5 separate regions of the Homo sapiens genome follow, and all the other regions are linked to region 1. Evidence: promoter capture Hi-C in 16 types of primary human blood cells and fetal thymus (Javierre and others, 2016). All regions are on one chromosome and are shown on one strand. Each heading gives the region's core, a stretch centred on a gene start or on the middle of the fragment in contact. The rest is flanking DNA. Distances are from core to core; before and after follow the strand shown. Region 1 holds the start of NHLRC1 (NHL repeat containing E3 ubiquitin protein ligase 1). Region 2 has its middle 33 kb from the start of MIR548A1HG. Region 3 overlaps KIF13A (kinesin family member 13A). Region 4 overlaps KIF13A (kinesin family member 13A). Region 5 holds the start of LOC105374953 (a long non-coding RNA gene).

Region 1 (2,726 bases), core at 227-2,726:
CAAATTCTCTTTGTTTTTGGTCTTAACTGAGATTGGAAAAACTGAACTTAGTGTCATTTGAGGGAATTATTATAATGCAGTGTTTCTCAAACTTGGCTGTACATTATAATCACCTGGGGAGCTTTTATAAATCCCAGCTGTCCAGACCACACCATGGGCCAATTAAACTTTTCGGGTGCGACCCAGGTGTTTACCATGTGCAAAGAAGTTTGAAAATGACTAAAATAGGTAACTCTGAAGTCAAACTGCCTGGCTTCAAATTCCAGGCCAGCCACTTCCTAGCCATGTGACCCTGGGCAAGATATTTGATTTCTATGAATTCTATCAGAAAAAAAGACAATAAAAATAACATATTTTTGTAGGATTGCTATGAGGTTTAAACAAGATAATCTATGTAAATTATTTATTAATTTGCTGCAAAAGTAATCACGGTTTTGCCATTAAAAGTGATGGCAAACACTGCGAATCCTTTTCACCAACCTAACACAATGGGGCAGGCATATGTGAATTCCATAGGCTGGGCACAGTGGCTCACACCAGCACTTTGGGAGGCCAAGGGGTGGGGAGGAATGTGAACAATTTTCACAAGTTCAAGACCAGCCTAGGCAACATAGTGAGACCTCCTCTCTACAAAAAAATTAAAAAATTAGCCTAGTGTGATGGTGCATGCCTGTAGTCCCAGCTACTGAAGTGGGAGGATTGCTTGAGCCTGGGAGATGGAGGCTGCAGTGAGCTGTGATCGTGCCCCTGCACTCCAGCCTGGGTGACAGAGTGAGACTTTGTCTTAAAAAACAAAAAAATGAAGTTCTATGGTAATTATTATTAACTAACAGCTTTCTTATTTCATATTAATTACTCTGCAAGACACTTCCAGCATGGTTGCCCCATCTGACACTCATTCACCTCGTTGATTTTTTTTTGTTGTTGTTGTTGTTCTATAACATTCATTCATGCACAAATTCATTTTACAAGTATGTATTCATCTAACATTGACTTAACTATGAGTATGACAGAAGACACAAAAGAAATGTACACATCTGCCTCACCTCCCTTGGAGTTTATCTTCTCTAGTGTGTTCGTGTTTTCCGGTTCAGATCATAAGCATCATGAGCTAAGGGACCATGTTTTATGCCCGGACAGCCGTAGCACCCGGCGCTGCGGATTGGAGACACTGCTAGGCACCCGGGCTGGAAGATTGGGTTCTAGTTCTTGTTTTGCCGCTTACAGGCTGGGTGACAGGGAGCAATCCTGTTGTCCTCAATAGGTGTGTTTCCTCATCTGAAAGTGTACACAATCCATCCATGACTGCTGTGACGATTACAGGTCTACACAACGCGCATGTGGATTTGTCTTGCAAACGTCCACCATCAGGCCCTCAGGAAACAGTGCCGCGCGTGCCCACCAAGGGGCAGCAGATCGCAGTGCAGAGGCCCGCGGCGCTCGACGTCAGGGCGCACGTCCCACCCCGTGACCATGACTGTGACCGTGACCGAGAGCGTCGCTGGGGCACGGCCAGGCGGCGCGGCGGGAGTGCACAGGACGCGCCATGGCGGCCGAAGCCTCGGAGAGCGGGCCAGCGCTGCATGAGCTCATGCGCGAGGCGGAGATCAGCCTGCTCGAGTGCAAGGTGTGCTTTGAGAAGTTTGGCCACCGGCAGCAGCGGCGCCCGCGCAACCTGTCCTGCGGCCACGTGGTCTGCCTGGCCTGCGTGGCCGCCCTGGCGCACCCGCGCACTCTGGCCCTCGAGTGCCCATTCTGCAGGCGAGCTTGCCGGGGCTGCGACACCAGCGACTGCCTGCCGGTGCTGCACCTCATAGAGCTCCTGGGCTCAGCGCTTCGCCAGTCCCCGGCCGCCCATCGCGCCGCCCCCAGCGCCCCCGGAGCCCTCACCTGCCACCACACCTTCGGCGGCTGGGGGACCCTGGTCAACCCCACCGGACTGGCGCTTTGTCCCAAGACGGGGCGTGTCGTGGTGGTGCACGACGGCAGGAGGCGTGTCAAGATTTTTGACTCAGGGGGAGGATGCGCGCATCAGTTTGGAGAGAAGGGGGACGCTGCCCAAGACATTAGGTACCCTGTGGATGTCACCATCACCAACGACTGCCATGTGGTTGTCACTGACGCCGGCGATCGCTCCATCAAAGTGTTTGATTTTTTTGGCCAGATCAAGCTTGTCATTGGAGGCCAATTCTCCTTACCTTGGGGTGTGGAGACCACCCCTCAGAATGGGATTGTGGTAACTGATGCGGAGGCAGGGTCCCTGCACCTCCTGGACGTCGACTTCGCGGAAGGGGTCCTTCGGAGAACTGAAAGGTTGCAAGCTCATCTGTGCAATCCCCGAGGGGTGGCAGTGTCTTGGCTCACCGGGGCCATTGCGGTCCTGGAGCACCCCCTGGCCCTGGGGACTGGGGTTTGCAGCACCAGGGTGAAAGTGTTTAGCTCAAGTATGCAGCTTGTCGGCCAAGTGGATACCTTTGGGCTGAGCCTCTACTTTCCCTCCAAAATAACTGCCTCCGCTGTGACCTTTGATCACCAGGGAAATGTGATTGTTGCAGATACATCTGGTCCAGCTATCCTTTGCTTAGGAAAACCTGAGGAGTTTCCAGTACCGAAGCCCATGGTCACTCATGGTCTTTCGCATCCTGTGGCTCTTACCTTCACCAAGGAGAATTCTCTTCTTGTGCTGGACACAGCATCTCATTCTATAAAAGTCTATAAAGTTGACT
Region 2 (2,726 bases), core at 139-2,638, 370 kb before region 1:
CCAGCAGGTTCATTCTATCTAAATGGCTCTCTTACTCTTCTTCTCTTGTTCATACCCACCATCATATGCTACATCCAGTTAATTATATCAGGTTCATTGCTTTTCTCCCTACTTCTCCCTCAACCTCCTTCCACAAAACTATCAACATAATTTTTCTCACACGTAAGTTTCATCTCGTCACTACCTTGCTCAAACTTTAGCAATGCCCTAGTTATCTTGGAGATAAAAGCTGATTTCTTCAAGTCACTTCAGGATTTGGTCCTCTCCTACCTGTCCATCCATCCTTACATCCCCCCTACTCTTTATACTCCAGTGATTCTAAACAACTTTGGACTAAGCAAACTTGCTGGACTCTTGCATACCTCCAAAGATGTTCCTCTCCCTAGAATGCATCTACTCCCTGGTCTGTTCCCAGTCTTCAGGACTGCCAAATATTCAGTTGACTTGCCCAGTTTCATTCGGCTTCCCACTCACCAGCCAGGACACGTTAGTCCATTTTTTATCTGTGCTCTGTTTCTTCAATTGGCCAAGGTCAGCAAAAGTTTGAGGAGGATTTAGTTCATTTTCCCTATTCCACCATCCCAAGCAAGAAAACCTTAAGGAGCACCCCATAGGGTGGAATCTGACAATGAAGATGACCAAGTGATAGGCAGAACAAGGAGGCAGAAAGGAACTGGATTCTTGGTGACTTTGGGTGCCTGAGTCAAGCTTGCCTGGAGCCTACTCTATATCAAGACTTTTCTGTTTCATCAGCCAACAACTTCCCTGTATTGTTTAAGCTTGTTTGAACTGGGTTTTCTATCTCTTGCAACCCAGAGGAGCTTATCTGATGCAACAGAAATTAATATTATTCTCTTTGAAAGACATAGATTTCCTTAAAATAAATGGTAAAATAATATAAACTTGCATGCACCAAAGGAGCTCAGTAAATGCACCACTGATTAGAGTCAGGGAGCTTGAATTCTACATGAAAATTTGCCTGCAGCTTCTTGAGGCCCTAACCTCTCATGCTTTATTCTTCTATCTGTAGATTGACTCTACTCCTACCAACTCATTCCTTAATGTATAACATAGTTGCTAGTTATAAAGTCTGGAAAGAGTTCTATTGTTCCTTTACATGTGCAGTTATTTAAAAACATTTATTATTTATTGAGCACTTACTATGTGCTTGGCAGTAGGTGTCAAACACAGAGAAAAACCTGAGATATGTTCTAGGCCAAAGTTTGGCAAACCGCAGCTCAGGGGCCAAATGTGGCCCCTCTCTTGTTTGCATAAATAAAGTTTTATTGAAACACAACCGTACTGACTCATTTATGTGTTGACTGGCTGCTTTCACACTACAACAGCACAGTTGGGTTGTAACCACAAAGACCGTATGGCCTACAAAGCCTTAAGTACCTACGATACAGCACTTTACAGAAAAAGTTTGCCAACCTCTGTTCTAGGCTATTTACCACAGCTAAATAAACCTCCCTTCCCTGAAAAACTGTAGCAAAGTATCTTTCACTCACTTTGGTGTAATGCAGACCCAAATGTCAAATTACTTCCCTAGAAAATAAGTATAGGAGGGAGAAAGAAAAAAATTTTAAACATAAATTCAAATGAGTACACTTTTAGTTTCCAGAATTAATTGGTACCACAGATAAGATTCAGGCCCTGTGAACCATCATTAAGGTCTTCCTTGAGAGAGGAGGGGCAGAAACTGTCCTAGCTGGTGTCAGTGAAAATCCAAGTGCAGGCAATATGACTCATTACAAAGAAAAGAGGTTCGCTTGGCTTTTTTTCTCCTTCATCCTTTCCCCTTGCACAGTTTACTTCTCAGAACAAGATTCTGGTTTCAGAAACTATAGGCAGAGACTAAGATAGATAGATAGATAGATAGATAGATAGATAGACAGACCAGCTTATTTCTAAGTATTAATGCAAAGGCTAAAATCTAGAAATTAGGTTTCTGATTTTTTTTGTATTGGTCTATGATGACTCACAGGTAAGCTTCTAGACTAAATAAACTGTTCAGAATAGTTCCCATTCCCATTGTGCATTCAAGGTTTTCATAAAGCTCTTTTGCAGTACCAGGAGGATTAACACCATAATCACTTACATTGTTATACCGTGGAGTGGAAATACCACAGGCCATTGAGGCCAACAGTTGCCTGTTTCAACTTGTTTTGCCACTTACAATGTGCGCAACACAGAAGAATGTATTTTTCTCCCTCTCCTCTGAAACGCAGTTTCCTTAAGAGTATGTGGAATATGAATCCTCGTTTTCTAGAGTTGTTAGGGAATTGGATGAGGTCACGTGGGAAAGCATCTAACACCGTTACAGGCACAGAGCTGTGTTTCCATAAACATGGTTTATTTCCTTCTCCCTATATCCTTCTGTATCTGAGCAAATGAAAAGCATGCCCTAGTCTGAACAAGAGAATCACAACTTCCTAATATTCAGAGTCTTTCCTGTGTTAAATGGAAAACAAAAGTTACAAGTTGAGAGATACAAAGAGATTTAATTGTGTTCCGGGACTTTCTCCTCATTACCTCAACTCCCAACCCCAAGATCAAAGATGAGAATAGGTTTCTATTTGTACATGAACAGAAAGCTGCAGGCATCAATCAGTAGTAACCACTAATGGAAACTTGGCCACTAGTACCCTCTCTGAGTCTGTCTGACACATTTGGATCTAATTGGCAGTCTGCTTTAGAACAGCCAAAAAATATATTGTCATACA
Region 3 (2,726 bases), core at 58-2,557, 350 kb after region 1:
GCCACCATGCCCAGACAATTGCTATGCACTTTCAGTATTACATTGTTACTTACCATGATAGGTTCCATACCAGGACAGTACCACACATAATTGAATAGATATCTGTGTGTTTATGGGTTTAACTCTAAATGATTGGAGAAGGTGTTACATCCACCATAGCATAATCAAAATTATTTCAATGGGTAAAAGAGGGGATTTAAAATTAAGGACAGATTGCAACATGATCTTATTCAACAAATATTTCTTGAATACATATTATATATGAGTTACTATGCTAGAGACTAGATGATCCAAAAGGTATAAGCACAGATTTATGTCCTTAAGAAGTTTAAAATTTAGTCTTCAGAGGCAATCAACTCCTGATAAGTTGACATAAGATTAAGTAAGCTCGTATGATATGCCAGCGTTTTCTCTGTTTTGTATACCAATACTTTATGCCTCTTTGAAACTTTTAAATCTCAAATATAGGTAGAGTAACCACACTGCCAAATTTGCCTTGGACAGTCTCAGCTGTGCCTTCTACCCAGGCAGAATTACTAATGGAACAGTTGTCCTTTGAGAGTGTTTCAGTTTGGTCATTAAATTATCAAGTCACTCTGGGTATATGCCACATTGCTCAAAGTAGCTACCTCTGGGGAGGAAGGAAGATGAATGGGACCAAAAGATCACACTACATTTGTAATAATTTTATTAAACTTGAGCAAATATAATAAAATATTAACATGTATTCACTCCGGGTATACCTTGGATATGACAGTATTTTTTACGATATTCAGCCCTTTCTGTATATTTGAAATAAATCATAATAAAAATAAAGAAGAGCATATGCTGCCATTAAAAAAAAACAGAAGAAACTCCAACCTGGGCTTTATTTCTTATTTTGGAGTGATTCAATTACAGTTAACCCATATTTTTACCTTGTAGGGTTGGCCAGAGAACCAGTTGGACATGTCTGACTATAGCTCCAGTTACCAAGATGTAGCATGTTATGGAACTTTACCCAGGGATTCTCCTCGAAGGAATAAAGAAGGTAGTGGTGAGATTATTTTGCAGTGATATTTCTTTGTAATTACTTAGAAAAAGTATGAAAAAATGTCTTTCATTAATGGCATATAATAAGATATGAAGCTGATATTCTAGTTAACTAGATGATACAAAACTGTTATTGAATGTAACATATAACATTCACTTATTTGATTTATTTTTGTTTTGTATCCAACATATCACCCAAATAATCATAGACTTTTTGTGTATTACTTTAGAACTTCTGAATCATTTTTTGTCATCATTTCCTGACTTTCAAGTCCAGTTTTGAGACACATACAAATCCTATTATTTTCTACCAGAATATCCAGCTCTGTCATATTTGTGTACTCAAAGGAATTTTTAAAAGAACATGACTTTGATTCATAAAGCAGTTTTCAAAAACGATACCCAAAATGAGTTTGATTCATGGTGACATTATTACCTAAATTATACAGTCTACCAGTGCCTTAATGGGAACAGTATTCTTTGGCCATATATATCGGTTCTGTTACCTTATACCTTATATTAGTAGGTAAAATATAAGGTATATTCGCCATTATACTAACAAATTGGAAAGGGAGGAAAGAGGCCAAAAAGGTAAGAAATGATACAAGCAAGGAAGAAGAATTGTCCTCCCTTAGTCATATATAGCAGGGTGGCCTGAGGGGGAAAAAAAGAGGCTCGCAAGAAAATTTACACAGTATTAATTCATTGAATATTTATTGAGCCTCTACTTTCTGTCTTATAACTATGGAAATAAGATACACAGAAAATGAGATGTTAAATGATAAGGTGCCAAAATGAACATGCAGATAATAAGGGCTGTGAGAATTCAGAGGAATGGAAAATCAGCGTGAGCTGAAATTGGTCTGGTTAGTGGTGCTTAAGCTGGATCTTGAAAAGAGTGTAGAAATTTGCTATCTCACTTTGTTCACACAGACTAGCACTGTAGTAACTCTTTGTGACATCACAGATTTATGTCTATTCTTGCCTACATCTGTTCCATGGTTTTTTGGGGGTTTTTTTGTTTGTTGTTTGTTGTTTGTGGGGTTTTTTTGTTTTGTTTTTAGACAGGGTCTCCCTCTCTCTCTCTTGCCCGGGCTGGAGTGCAGTGGCACCATTATAACTCACTGCAGCCTCAACCCCTGGGGCTCAAGCGATCTTCTCGCCTCAGCCTCCTGAGTAGCAAGTACAACAAGTAGACACCACCATGCCTGGCTATCTGTTTATTTTTTTTTTCACAGACTGGTGTCCCTATGTTGCACAGGGTGGGCATACATCTGTTTTAATGCTTAGCCAAATATTAGCCTATGAATTTCATTGTTCTCCCAGATATTCCCATGGCTGGGTCATTGTCTCAGTTCCTATGTTTTGCTTAAAGTGTTCAGCATCTGTAACCTCATAACTTCTCATCTTCCCTAGGTTGTACATCAGAGACTCCTCATGCCTTAACCGTCAGCCCTTTTAAAGCATTCTCTCCTCAGCCACCAAAGTTTTTCAAGCCCCTAATGCCTGTAAAAGAGGAGCATAAGAAAAGGATAGCCCTGGAAGCAAGGCCTCTTCTAAGCCAGGAGGTAAATGCTTGACTTGTCTGTACTATGCAGAATAGAGCAGAGTTGTGTCACCTGTGAAGCAGCAGTGTGCATTAACAAGCTGAGTGCTGCATGTGGACATGCACGGTCATCACTCCATGGTTCCCG
Region 4 (2,726 bases), core at 72-2,571, 330 kb after region 1:
AAAATAAAATTAGGATCTTGTCCCCCAGTAGCCTAAAAAAAAATGTGTGTGCTTCATTGAGTCCCCAGTTTACTACCAGATATGAATTAGGAACTGGGAAGAATCACTGTTAAATCTGCCTCCCTCACCGTCATATGTGATCGGGAGCACTCTCCCTATCGTGCCGAGGAGAAAACATTTCTCTATGGAGTCTGAGTGTAAGCCCAGCCAATCTTGAGGATGTTTTCTCTTCTATCTTAGTTTCCTTTTGGCTTCCTGGCTTTCAGGCAAAGTCTCTTCTGAAAGCTGAAAGTCAGTGCACAGACTATTGAACTTCAAGGCAGTAATAGCTTTGTCAGATGCTGCCTGCCTTCTTCAAGCCCAAAATTCCCTCTAGCTCGGAACATCTGTCCACACTTCATTCAGAGTATGAGTGTAGGTGCAAGGACAGGGCTGCTGTGGTTTGGTAGGCTTCTCCACCAGACTTTTCCTTGTGTGTGTGCAGCCCGTGGAGCAGGAAATGGGATTGTAGGTATTCTCATAGCAGTTCAGTCCTTCACTTAGCCATCAACTTCTACGTGGCTGCACGGTCGAAAGAGAACACTAGACTGGGAGTCAGGAAACCTGGGTTCTTAAGTCTAGTTGAGCTTTACTAAATGGTTATCTTGGCTGGAAAATTTAAACTTTGAGTTCCCCTTTTCTCCAAACTGATGAAGTAGACTTAATAATCCTCTGAGGTCCCTGTCCACAATAAAATTTTGTGGCTTAATAAATCTCTGGTGTTCAATAAAAACATCGGCTGTGTGCTCCAAACTGTGACCTGCAGTATAAGTATATGGGTCATCAACTAACTAAATGTTCTCATTTGAGGAACATTCCAAGGATCAACTATTTGCTGCTTTTTTTTTTTTTTTTTTTTTGAGTCTCACTCTGTCCCCTAGGCTGGAGTGCAATGGTGCAATCTTGGCTCACTGTAACCTCTGCCTCCTGGGTTCGAGCGATTCTCCTGCCTCAGTCTCCAGAGTAGCTGGGATTACGGGCACCTGCCAACGCACCTGTCTAATTTTTGTATTTTTAGTAGAGATAGGGGTTTCATCATGTTGGCCAGGCTGGCCTTGAACTCCTGACCTCATGATCCACCCACCTCGACCTCCCAAAGTGCTGGGATTACAGGCGTGAGCCACTGCGCTCAGTACTTTTTTTTTTTTTTTTTTTGAGACAGAGTCTCTCTCTCTGTCACCCAGGCTGGAGTGTGGTGGCACAATCTCGGCTCACTGCATCTTCCATCTCCCTGGTTCAAGTGATTCTCTTGCCTCAGCCTCCCGAGTAGCTGGGATTACAGGCCCGCACCACCACACCCAGCTAATTTTTGTATTTTTAGTAGAGACGGGTTTCACCATGTTGGCCAGGCTGGTCTTGCATTCCTCACCTCAAATGATCCGCCTGCCTGGTCCTCCCAAAGTACTGGGATTACACGTGTGAGCCACCACACCCAGCAACTGTTCACATTTTTTAAAAAACAGCTCTACCTCTGAGTTAAAACTGATTTTTGTCAAATTGTAAACTTTAAAATATTAGCCTTTCCCCAGTGCTATGTGCTCTTTAAGAGCATAGTGCTTAAAATTTGGACTGTAACTATTTTAAAGGCTTTTTTTTTCTTTGCTGCCATGTTCCAGGTCACGTCTGTTAAGTGTTTTTGTTGTTGTCACAGTGTTTTAGAATTATTCTGATGCAAAAAAAAAAAAAAGAATTATTCTCATGCAGTAGCTGAAACCAATGCAGAATATGCTGGTTTTGCAACAATTTCATGTCATGAATGCTTAGGCCAATTTTCAGTTAATAGAACTACCTCCATAGTTTAAAAAGTTATGATAAATTAGAGCCATTTGTTCTTTTACATTAATAGGAAGCATTAGTTCAAGATAAATTACTTCAGGATTAGGATTACATTTAATAAGTTAGTCATATAACTGATAATGGTGGTTACCAAACTAAAAAAAAAAAAAAAGCAGTTCATTTTGAAGTATATATGAAAATAATTTTGACTATATTCTTAAAGCACTTTTTAGTCATAAATCTAAATTAAGGGATTCTAGGTTCTCGTTTATAAGGAAAATTTTTTTCTACCAAGACCCTTTTGTTTTCAACGTGATTACTTTGTTTTGCCAAATGTTTTTGCAAAAATTGTTACTTTGTTTATTTATTTTACAATGTTGCCCTGTGTTTGGGACAGTTATGATTCTTTCAAGTGATTGTTATGGTCAATAGAGAGTACTGACCAATCCTTATATTCCAAATAGTATGCTATTGCTTTTATTTCAACAGTGTAGTACAGACCCTTGTATGTATATAGCCTGAGGTTGCCCCAGCTTTCCCCTGGGATGATTGCATCAGGGAAGACAGCTGAGGTTGGAGACCTCAGACATGGCTTACAGTTCTGACCTGCCATTATCTGTGTGGTCCTAAGGTTAAATCATTTCATCCTTTAAGGCTTAAAGGATGTTTGCCTCATTGCTCAAACTGAGATTGGGCAAGAGAATGTTCCCTGTAGTTTTGCCACTCTGTCTTCCTAAGCCTATCTCAAATCTCAGTCAAATAGTCTACCCCAAAATACATATCAGCTGTCTGTATGACAGTGGTATAAGGCCTGGCCCAATTATGTTGGTTCCTATCTCCAGCTAAGAGATTTCTTATTTTTATTTTATGTTTTTGGAGACAAGGTCTTGCTCTGTTGCCCAGGCTGAGGT
Region 5 (2,726 bases), core at 75-2,574, 270 kb after region 1:
TAAAACTGTTCTCCCAATGATGCCAGTGACATCCTTCTAGACATGTGGTATTCTAAACAGTATTTGGCAGTTAGTACAGCCCTTTCTTTTTGGCAGGGTCTCCTGCCTTGGTTTCTGTCACTTCTGGCTCTCCTGTTTTTCTGAATCACTCCTCTTGCCATTGACCGGCCTGTTTTACTTTATTTACTCTTTGACTTATATGCCTTGTTAAGATCTGACTCAAGATTCTGCTTCTATTTCTATAGTGATTGCTTTGGAAATCTCATAACACAAACTGCTATCTCTGTTGCTAAAGGATGTGAATGAATGAGTGAATGCACAGAGAAACAAGCAAATCCCTGCACTTACTTTGTGCTGTTTGTGGGATGTGGCTGGCCCATTATCACCCCAGACTTAGTATGGCTAAAACTAATCTGTGCAGTGATTCTCTCCAGCCATTTAAATCAAGGTATATATAGAATTGCTCTAATCGGAAATAGAGCACAGTGATCATTTTAAAAAGGTTTCGATTCTGAAATGAATGGATACTTTTTTGGTCTAAAGGTGCTAACTCAGCTCCTTCACTGAGGTCCCTGGTTCTTAGCTCAGTGTGGTTGAGGTAAGTGTTGATGTTATCCTGTCACTTACTAGTAGGAGCCAGGGTGCTCTATTTGCATCCCAGCTCTACCTCTTACTGGATTTGGGGAAAGTTGCTTGACCTCCACGAACTTCAGCATCCTTGTATGTAAAAGCAAGAAAATAAAGTTCATTTAGCAAATATTTCATAAGATCCCATAGGCTCTAGGCATTCTAGGAGCAAGTGTACAAAGTGGAATAAGGAAAAAACCCTGCCATCAGGGAGCCACAGTATTGGAGGAGGGAGGCAGACAGGCAGGCATCAGCGGGTTGGTAAGCACAGGAGAGTAAGAGTTAAATCAAGTCACTGCTATTATTGATTATCGGAGTGCTCAATAAATATTAGCTATCCCAGGAACCCAAAAAGGAGAAAATAGGGACTCAACTGAGAAAGAAGACAATTGGGAAATGGAAAGAATTAGGGAAACATTTCATACATTACAAAGTCTTGAGTGAGGTGGAAGCTCAAACCATGCTCAATGGAGGAGCGGCAGGGAGGTTTCTATGGAAGGGTGGTGACAAAGGCATCAGAGGAATCATAATTAATACATATACCTGGTGTGCAGGACTACATTCTTGTGTTTTTGCTTATGGTCTTTTCCTTATGCTTTGCCCCTAGGATATTGAGTCATTGATGTCTGAGGGAAATAAGTCTCGAACGGTAGCTGCTACCAACATGAACGAAGAAAGCAGCCGCTCCCATGCTGTGTTCAACATCATAATCACACAGACACTTTATGACCTGCAGTCTGGGGTAAGGGATTAGGCAGAACCTTTTTGGAGTGGGGGTGGAAGAACTGAAAGTGTCCATATAGGTAAAGTCTTTCATGGTTGGGTTCAGTGGCTGAGAATTGTATGTTGGCTCTTCTGCTTACTAGGTGAGCTACTTTGCTTATCATTTAATTTGTTAGGTCTTTCTTTATATTTGACTTTTTAAAAAATTGGATTTTGGCCTGGTGCAGTGGCTCCTGCCTGTAATTCCAGCATTTTGGGAGTCTGAGGCGGGAGGATTGCTTGAGGGCAGAAGTTCATGACCATCTTGTACAATATAGCAACACCCAGACTCTACAAAAACAAAAAAGAAAAATAATTGTATTTCTTGTGCAAAGTCCCTAACAAGTGTGATGACATCACCATACAGCTTTTAATATATATCCTTTCATGCTGAAATTCCCATGGAAACATGTCAGCTTCATAGCCATTGAGGGATATTAAAGAGGACACCACAACCTTTAGCCTAAACCTTTTTTCAAAGGAAGAAGGATTTGACTTGAATGTGCAGAAATCCTCATGTCCTCATATCTCCTCATAGGCATTTTAAATCTCCAGCTTTCTGACTGTATTCCAGAAAGCTGGGTGTACTTGCTACCCAGCTGCAAAACAAAATGCTACATTTCTACGCCTATTTAAATGTTAACTATGAAATTAATTGCTGGTTCAAATAACTCTTCTGACCGTTTAAAAACTTAAGAAATTTGCCATATGAGAGTGGGATGGATTGCTCAATTATAGTGCTAACATATATGTAGATATCCATGTGGTTTTTATTGATAAGTTTTTCTTCTCTCTCTCGTTTCCTATAACTAGAATTCCGGGGAGAAAGTCAGTAAGGTCAGCTTGGTAGACCTGGCGGGTAGCGAAAGAGTATCTAAAACAGGAGCTGCAGGAGAGCGACTGAAAGAAGGCAGCAACATTAACAAGTAAGGTGGCTGGTCCCAGAACAGCCTGGGTGATTTCCTTCTGGAGGGGATTTGTTGCATTATGAGGGTCAGATGGTTCTGATGTACAGGTTGTTTAAAGTCTGTATAGCTTTAGTAAACTGGGCTGAAGAAAAACAACAACAACCTGTGTCTGTTAAGATGTATGAGGTTTTTGGCCAGGCACGGTGGCTCATGCCTGTAATCCCAGTACTTTGGGAAGCCAAGGCGGGCAGATCACCTGAGGTCAGGAGTTTGAGACCAGCCTGGCCAACATGGCAAAACCCCATCTCTACTAAAAAGGCACGGTCACGCACACCGGTAACCCCAGCTACTTGGGAGACTAATGCAGGAGAATCGCTTGAATTTGGGAGGTGGAGGTTGCAGTGAATCAAGATTGCACCACTACACTCC

Evidence for each region. Contacts are between HindIII fragments. The CHiCAGO score rates a contact against its expected background, and 5 or more counts as called.
Region 2: a fragment that was not itself captured here is called in contact with the fragment with the promoter of NHLRC1 in region 1 in 1 of 17 cell types (total B cells); the score reaches 5.5 in total B cells.
Region 3: a contact is called between a fragment that was not itself captured here and the fragment with the promoter of NHLRC1 in region 1, in 4 of 17 cell types (neutrophils, monocytes, M2 macrophages and 1 more). The highest score is 14.2, in neutrophils.
Region 4: a contact is called between a fragment that was not itself captured here and the fragment with the promoter of NHLRC1 in region 1, in 7 of 17 cell types (neutrophils, M2 macrophages, monocytes and 4 more). The highest score is 13.5, in neutrophils.
Region 5: a contact is called between a fragment that was not itself captured here and the fragment with the promoter of NHLRC1 in region 1, in 8 of 17 cell types (M2 macrophages, M1 macrophages, megakaryocytes and 5 more). The highest score is 13.9, in M2 macrophages.

Annotation. Positions count from the first base shown.
Region 1 is chr6:18,121,427-18,124,152 of GRCh38, reverse strand. It overlaps NHLRC1 (NHL repeat containing E3 ubiquitin protein ligase 1), which reads left to right and starts at 1,476. Exons shown (of 1, transcript NM_198586.3): 1 at 1,476-2,726. The coding sequence starts at 1,547. The HindIII fragment of the contact is 6,107 bases long and covers 1-2,172 here.
Region 2 is chr6:18,488,092-18,490,817 of GRCh38, reverse strand. No RefSeq gene overlaps it. Among named protein-coding and RNA genes, the nearest start is that of MIR548A1HG, 33 kb to the left of the region's middle. The HindIII fragment of the contact is 1,213 bases long and covers 782-1,994 here.
Region 3 is chr6:17,771,782-17,774,507 of GRCh38, reverse strand. KIF13A (kinesin family member 13A) reads left to right here. Exons shown (of 39, transcript NM_022113.6): 36 at 925-1,030; 37 at 2,449-2,600. Among named protein-coding and RNA genes, the nearest start is that of NUP153-AS1, 66 kb to the right of the region's middle. The HindIII fragment of the contact is 5,011 bases long and covers 1-2,726 here.
Region 4 is chr6:17,790,370-17,793,095 of GRCh38, reverse strand. The region is part of intron 25 of KIF13A (kinesin family member 13A); the gene reads left to right. Among named protein-coding and RNA genes, the nearest start is that of NUP153-AS1, 85 kb to the right of the region's middle. The HindIII fragment of the contact is 3,583 bases long and covers 1-2,726 here.
Region 5 is chr6:17,848,966-17,851,691 of GRCh38, reverse strand. It overlaps KIF13A (kinesin family member 13A), which reads left to right. Exons shown (of 39, transcript NM_022113.6): 8 at 1,235-1,369; 9 at 2,203-2,315. It overlaps LOC105374953 (a long non-coding RNA gene), which reads right to left and starts at 1,258. Exons shown (of 3, transcript XR_001744007.2): 1 at 1,171-1,258; 2 at 628-717. The HindIII fragment of the contact is 3,444 bases long and covers 1-2,726 here.